Regions from separate parts of the Homo sapiens genome. Here region 1 is linked to region 2. The links are contacts of gene promoters, found by promoter capture Hi-C in blood cells and fetal thymus (Javierre and others, 2016). All regions are on one chromosome and are shown on one strand. Each heading gives the region's core, a stretch centred on a gene start or on the middle of the fragment in contact. The rest is flanking DNA. Distances are from core to core; before and after follow the strand shown. Region 1 overlaps HERC3 (HECT and RLD domain containing E3 ubiquitin protein ligase 3). Region 2 holds the start of AFF1 (ALF transcription elongation factor 1).

Evidence for each region. Contacts are between HindIII fragments. The CHiCAGO score rates a contact against its expected background, and 5 or more counts as called.
Region 1: a contact is called between a fragment that was not itself captured here and the fragment with the promoter of AFF1 in region 2, in 1 of 17 cell types (non-activated CD4 T cells). The highest score is 7.2, in non-activated CD4 T cells.

Annotation. Positions count from the first base shown.
Region 1 is chr4:88,600,238-88,604,280 of GRCh38, reverse strand. All of the region lies in intron 2 of HERC3 (HECT and RLD domain containing E3 ubiquitin protein ligase 3), which reads right to left. Among named protein-coding and RNA genes, the nearest start is that of HERC3, 9.8 kb to the right of the region's middle. RefSeq lists an enhancer at 2,480-3,170. The HindIII fragment of the contact is 3,506 bases long and covers 539-4,043 here.
Region 2 is chr4:86,932,995-86,936,676 of GRCh38, reverse strand. AFF1 (ALF transcription elongation factor 1) reads right to left here and starts at 1,666. Exons shown (of 21, transcript NM_001166693.3): 1 at 1,437-1,666. AFF1-AS1 (AFF1 antisense RNA 1) reads left to right here and starts at 1,827. Exons shown (of 3, transcript NR_038841.1): 1 at 1,827-2,190; 2 at 3,135-3,282. It also overlaps a transcript of C4orf36 not described here. RefSeq lists enhancers at 232-351, 207-748, 749-1,290 and silencers at 603-741, 1,212-1,961. The HindIII fragment of the contact is 7,488 bases long and covers 1-3,682 here.

The DNA.
Region 1 (4,043 bases), core at 1,042-3,541, 1.7 Mb before region 2:
TTGGGAGGTCAAGGCGGGCGGACCACCTGAGGTCGGGAGTTCCACACCAGCCTGACCAACATGGGGAGACCCCATCTCTACTAAAAATACAAAATCAGCCAGGCGCGGTGGCGCATGCCTGTAATCCAGCTACTCGGGAGGCTGAGGTAGGAGAATCGCTTGAATCCGGGAGGCAGAGGTTGCAGTGAGCTGAGGTCACGCCATTGCACTCCAGCTTGGGCAATAAGAGCAAAATTCAGTATCAAAAAAAAAAAAAAGTAAATTTTATGGTATGTGAATTATATCTCAGTAAAGATTTTTTAATTGTCTTTAAATTTCCTTTCTCTTGCTACATGTCTACTGCCTCTGCAGGTCCACATCAGCCAACAAGGCTTTCTTGAGTTTAATTGTGAGAATTGTTATTACCAACATAATAGGCACAAAAGTATTTTTTCTACAACAGAAAGGAGGAGGGAACAACCCCTAGAGTTTAATATGGGAAAGGTATCAATTATTTCAATATATTATTTTTGCTTACAAAGACATAAGAGGGGAAGCTTTATCTAATGCTTTGATCAGAAATGAAATATTATAACTTCAAAAGTTCTGACTATTGATAAAGTTGGAAATCTTAAGTGGGTGGATCTTCTGTCAAGGAAAATACCCCATGCACCTCTCTGGTTTTGAAAGAAAGGTCCAAGATTTAGAGACGAAAGGAGACGGGGGAAATCCCAAGCATGCCTTATAAAACAGTAGATGCTCCTATTTAAGATAGCAAATTAAGAGAGAGCGATTGGCCGGGCATGGTGGCTCACACCTGTAATCCCAGCACTTTGGGAGGCTGAGGCAGATGGATCACCTGAGGAAGGAGTTCGAGACCAGCCTGACCAACATGGTGAAACCGCATCTCTACTAAAAATACAAAAATTAGTGGGGCGTGGTGGCGGGTGCCCATAATCCCAGCTACTCGGGAGGCTGAGGCACAAGAATCGCTTGAACCCAGGAGGCAGAGGTTGCAGTGAGCCAAGATGGCGCCACTGCACTCCAGCCTGGGCAACAAGAGCAAAACTCCACCTCAAAAAAAAAAAAAAAAAAAAGAGAAAGCGATTGAAGCCTGTAATATGGCTGCAAGTTTGGAACCTGGCCAGTAAACAGTAGATTCTCCGTGGCAGAGAACAGCAGATGAATTTTGAGAACAGTGGTGTCTAACACTCAAGTTTGAACTTGTTGCCTGTTCTGTAACTACTTTTGAGAATCCCAAACCTTCTATCAAAGTTAAGACACAACACCCTTACAATAACTGTATTTTGCCAAGCATGAATAAAAAGAACCTTGAAAATAAGCCCTCAGAGCCCCTCCTGAAGACTGACAACTGAGCAAGAGTTTTGGATGAGGCATGATAAGAGAACCTAAACATTCTTCTTCCCTTCGGAAATTCTTAGAAATTTGAGAAAGACGCTAAATCTCTAATCAGCATCGCCTTGGGTTTGAATCACTTTATCTGGATATGAAAGAAAACAGTGACCAGGCACAGTGGCTCACACCTGTGATCCTAACACTTTGGGAGGCCAAGGTGAGAGGACAGCTTAAGCCCAGGAGTTTGAGACCAGCCTGGGCAACACAGTGAGACCTTATCTCCACAAAAAATAAAATAAAATCAGCCAAGTGTGGTAGGACACACCTGTAGTCCCAGCTACTTGGGGTGCTGGGGTGAGAGGATCGTTTGAGCCTAGGAGGTCAAGGTTTCAGTGAGCTGTGATCGCACTGCTGCACTCCAGCCTGGGTAATAGAGCGAGACCCATCTTAAAAACAAACAAGCAATGCAGAAGATTGGTCTTAAGGACATTCAGATTACATTTCAGTTTCCAAACATACTTTTTTTTTTTTTTTTTTTTTTTTGGAGACCAAGTCTCGCTCTGTCTCCCAGGCTGGAGTGCAGTGGCGCAATCTCAGCTCACTGCAACCTACGCCTCACAGGTTCAAGTAATTCTCCTGCCTCAGTCTCTCAAGTAGCTGGGATTACAGGCGTGTGCCACCACACCCCACTATTTTTTTGGTATTTTAGTAGAGACAGGGTTTCGCCATGTTGGGCAGGCTGGTCTTGAACTCCTGACCTCAAGTAATTAGCCCGCCTTGGCCTCCCAAAGTGCTTGGATCACAGGTGTGAGCCACGGAGCCCAGCCGGTTTCCAAATATACATTTTAATTATAATTCTGAATATCCTTTTCTTTTTTTTTTTTTTTTTTGAGACGGAGTCTCGCTCTGTCGCCCAGGCTGGAGTGCAGTGGCGGGATCTCGGCTCACTGCAAGCTCCGCCTCCCGGGTTCACGCCATTCTCCTGCCTCAGCCTCCCAAGTAGCTGGGACTACAGGCGCCCGCCACTACGCCCGGCTAATTTTTTGTATTTTTAGTAGAGACGGGGTTTCACCGTTTTAGCCGGGATGGTCTCGATCTCCTGACCTCGTGATCCGCCCGCCTCGGCCTCCCAAAGTGCTGGGATTACAGGCGTAAGCCACCGCGCCCGGCCCCTGAATATCCTTTTCTAATCATACTTCTTAAACATGCTAGTCTCTCCATATTAAGAATCACTGTTCTAGGTCCTACAGGTCAAAATATCAGGATTTCAAGACAAGATTGCAGACTTCAAAGGTGTCTTCCCTAATCTTTTCATTGGTACATTCATTTCATCCTAATGAAAAGAGGATGGATTCTAACAGAAATGGTGAAGACTTACTTTGAATTATAATACTAGGCGAACACATCAAAGCTGAATATATCAGCCAATCTACAGGAGAGAACTGTCAACATATGAAGGAGACAGCTAATTGGCTCTTCTATGCAAAGTCAGCTTTTAAAATGACAAACTCTTTTCTCCCAAGATAAAAGCATGCCCAAATGGCTACAAATTAAAGATTACAACACAGAGGAAGCTCGTACTTTCAACCTCTCTTGACAACAATTACAGTACTTTGGATTTAACTCAATGGCCTTAATTGGTATATACCAATTTTAAAACTGCCTTATTGTAATCCTGAGGTATGCTTTGAACTCTTGAGGCTTTCAGGAAAGGCATGAAAAGGCCCAAAATAAAATATAAAACTGAATCTCAATTTGCTGTCTTACACAGAAAGTTCTGCTTCTTCCCAAGATTTTTATTCCTTGTCTAGACTCTACACTAAAAAAGTATTAAGATTAAATGTTATTCTTTGAATTAACTACAAATATTGTGGAGAGGGAAGTAGAAATAAAATGAAAAACTGGCAGGGTAGTGGTGGTGGTGGTTGGTGGTCTAATGATACACTAATAGACCAGCAAGCTCACATAATCTAGAAATAATTTATTTTTCCCAACTTGCTCAATTGCTATTATCCACATTAATGGATTTTTTCGTTTTTAGTATTTCATAAATTTGTCTTATCTCTCCTACCTTCTAGTGTTCTTAGGTGCAAGAAGGTTGTGATGTGCCTTACAGAGAAAAAAATGTGTATTAGGTAAGTTTCTTTCATGCATGAGTTATAGTGTTGGCTGTGAGTTCAATGTTAATGAATCAACAAGCGGGTACATCCAAAATATGGAACAGGAAATCTGCTGATCTGTATGTGAGGCCTCCCCTGGAGAGAGCTAAAGTAATATCCAGAGTACATAATGAAGCTATAGATACAATGGAAAAGCAATTAAATCTGTGGATTCATGAGATGACAACCCATAAAAAATAAAAATCACAGTGGATAGCACTGATGTGAGGCTGAAAGCCAAAAACACTGTCACATTACACAGGGTCAAGAAAATGTTAAACCCTTCTCAACTAGTGTTTTATTACCAAGAAATATTGTGTATATTAGTAAGAAATATATATTAAATAGGCTGTCTAGACAGAAACACACATAAAAAAAGGTTATGCGTCAGCTGGCTGATAAAAATCTCTTGACCACAGCCTACAAGAACCTAATCCTGTATTTCCTCAGAAACAATGGCTCTGTATTCACTAATATGGTATTCACCATGACTTTACAGAACCTAACTATATACAGAGTATAACAAGTCCCTTCTTTGTTTACTTAAGC
Region 2 (3,682 bases), core at 417-2,916:
CTAAAGATGAAAGGCGAGCTAAGGAAATACATTAGACAGAGGAAGTAAACACTGAAACAGGGCCATGCCTAGGTATTCTTCGGCCCCAAAGAAAAAAAACTAGACTCTGGGTCCAAAGGTCTTTTTCGTGACTTTTATCCCCACCCAGAGGCCAACACCACGCAGGTCTGAGAGAGGTAACCCACGGCCACCTACCTTCTACACACACCGCACGACCTTGCTCTGAAATAATCTTGCACAAGCAAAATTCTCCACGCCTCTCAGACTCCTACCTAACGTTTCTGTGCTTCAGTTTCTGAGCTCTTCTCACTTTGCAACTGTCCCAGGGAACACTGGGTCTTCGCCTTAATTTACAAGTTTGCACTGAAGGTTTTAAATCAGTCTGATTTCCCCGTGGTGAGTCACACCCCGCAACGTGCACCAAGGGGGAGGGTGTTTAAAATTATCTCCGGCTCCACCCTTAAAACAAATCACTTGGCTGCAAGGCCTTTCCCCCTAACAGAGACTGGTTCAAGGGAGATTCGGACACATCTCCACCTCCAAAGCCAAGTGCCTTCCCGGGATGATCTGCATAACAATTTGCGGGTGCTGGTGGTGGAGAAGCTCCGGGAAGAGAAAACTAGCCGGACGGTATCGAACCGCCCGCAGGCCCGTCGCAGCTCCATTAATGCAACTACCATTACACTAAGGTAACGTGTGATTCACACTCTCCACCTTCTCTCCCCTCTCATTCGCTGGCTCCGGCGCTCGCACCGTCGGAGGGTGGGGTTGCGACGGCCACAGAGGATGGGACACCCGAGGGAAAAAAGCATTATCAAGAGAAATTAACCAGTCCCATACTAAAGACGCCTCTCCCTCTGTCCCTGAAGTTAAGTCTCAGAAGGTGGCTCCAACTCCTCCCCGGAGGCTACGGACCACCGACACACGCCTCCCTCCTGCTCTCAGCGAGACGCGGCGGGAAGCCCTCATCTCTCTCCACGACAGGCACAGGGAAGGGTCCCGGGGTGCAGGAGAGAAGAACCCCACTTTTCCCCGCCCCCTCCCCCCGAGAAACTTCTGGGACTCATTACGCAACTCAAGTAGCAGGTCCCAACAACGGGACAGCTCTCCGCAAAACGCGGGGTGCACAGGCAAACGTCTGACTTGGGGGCTGCGCGTGAGGGAGGAGCATGGGTCTCTTCCCATGTCCCCGTCCCCTGTTTTTCTACGCGCTACCTGCCGCGGGATCGCAAGTAGGGCGGTGAGAGCTCTGAGCCCTAGCCCGTTCTCCCCGAGGGCTCCCACCGGAAAAGTGGGAACGCCAGCGACTTGAGTCAGCGTGCTGGGAAGCCGGCAGAGAGGCGGGGAGAGCCTCGGCTTCCGAGAAGTCCGCGGCGGCGGCGTCGGGGGCCGGGCGGATCGACCCCCAGCCCTGGGTGGCGCAGGGCTGCGCTCACCTTCCAGACCCTTCCGTCCTCTAGTCCCGGGTCGGGCGCCCTCGTCACCTCCGCCCTCCCCTGACCTGTTGCGGTGGGAAAGGGCGCAAGTGCGGACGACGCAGGGGAGCGCCTCCTCCCGGGGCTCGGCTGCGGAACCGCGGAGGCAAAGGTGCAGCTGCGGCCGCAACGCGCGCAGGCGGCGGCCGAGTGCGCAGGGGCCGCGCGCGCCCGTCGCTCGCTAGCTGGCTGGCAAGCTCAGCACGCCGGCTGCCCGGGACGCCCCGAGGCCACGCCCTCCGCGCGAGGCCCCGCCCCCACCCCCACCTCCCGAGCTGCGGTACCGGGTTCCGCCCCGGCCCGCGCCCTCTAGCTGGCGCCACCCAAGCGGCAAGGGACGTCGCGGCCCTCCCGGGATTGGTGGGAGGATCGTGGGGGAGCGGCAGCTCAGGACGGAATACGGCAATGACCGCCCCGGTCGCGAGGGTGACCCTGCCCCGGGCTGCTGTGGGGGCGCAAGAACCCTTTCACTTTACGGCGAGATTAAGCTCAGGGTCAAGTTCTGAGCAAAAAGTGTCAAGGAGCCTTTTTGCAACCTCCTATAATATTGAAACAGATTCTGTGCCCTTTAAAGGAGATAATAACTAACATCTGGGGAGCGCTTTACAATTTAGAAAAGGCCTTTCACACACAGGCCTGTTTCATCTTCACAACAATCTTATAAAACAGATATATTGTTCCCATTTCCCAAATAATGAAACGGAAGCGCCGAAAAGTAAGTATTGTGCTCAATGTCACAGGCTACTAAGTGGCATGGGAAACCAGGTCTCCTGAATCTAGCCTCCGGGTTTCTGCTCTCCACCAGCCCAACCTCAGAAAATTCTAATAGGTGCAGGGGGCTTTGGCAAATAGACCCATGGGAAGAAGGGGAAACTTATGTCTAGTTAAGTCGCTGCCCGATTCCTGCTGTAAACATACCAAGGAAAGCAACAGGCTGTCTTCATTGTGTTGTCGCACCTTCCTTCCTGAAAGGGACGCAGAAAGATTACATCAAATGGCCCAGATGAGATTTCGCCGACAGTATTTTATGGTTTAAAATGGGTGAAATTATTTGGATGAAGAAAAGCGCCTTACTTAAATTTAATATGATGTGTAATGTAAATTGGTATAATGTGTGAAAATAAGCCCCTCCCTGCCTTCTCTGCCTTTTCTCTTTTTAATTTTGTTTGTCTCTACTGCTCTGCTCAACTCTTTTATTGTCCACATAATTGAAAACCTAATTGATGGATATTTGCATTTCCAAATTAAACCTTTGGCTACTTGACTTAATTTCCCATGGATTGTTTTCCAAAATATAACTCTTCGCCCTACTCCATATCCTCCCATCGGGAGATTGGTTTACCTAGACAGCTAAAATAATTAAGGTGTCCCTGATGAAACCTGGTGGTGTATCTATCTAAGATGAAAGTTCTGGTCATCCCTGAGCAGGATGGGACAGGAGTCATCTCTTACAAAGTGTTTGTACACCTTTTAAAGGTTTCTAACAGAGACTGATCTCTATTCTAATCAATAACAAGTATTTTAACGTTTTTGCTATATAATGAATACATTTCATTGTGAAATATATATTAGCATGGTAATATTTTATAATCTGAAAACTTTTACCACTTCTATCTAAAATGTTTTCCTTTTTTGTGTTCTTTTTGTGTCATCCCATAGTATCTCCTATAGGGCTCTTCAAACTGTGGTCAACTTAGTAAATGATGTTGACAGTGGAAGTGTGATCATTTTATTTTCCTGCCTTTGGAATTGAAGATTGTAATTTTGCAAAAATTTTGTTGAAGATGATGTAGCTTTGGTTCAGAGAGTAAGTCATTCCATTTATATCAATATTCTTAAGGCAATGTGCTAGGTGACGAGCCATATTGATGACAAAGACAGAGCTCCTATTTTCATGACATTCCAGTGTGGTGGCAGAAACAAGCAAGTAAATAATTCCAGTACACACTTCTGTTGATTTATTTCGTGAATGGTGACTGGCTATTTAAAAAGACTAAATCAAATTAATTTTCTGATAATGAATAAAAAAGGATAGCCATGCCAGTGAGTTATTATTATTTTTTAAGTTGCCTTTCTCTCTCTTCTGCTGGTCATCTTATATAAATAGTCAATAAGAAGGCTATTTTAAAAAGTGATTACACTATATCTACTTTAAAAAATTTTTTATATCTACTTTTTAAATTTCAGACATAAACAAAAGGAGAGTA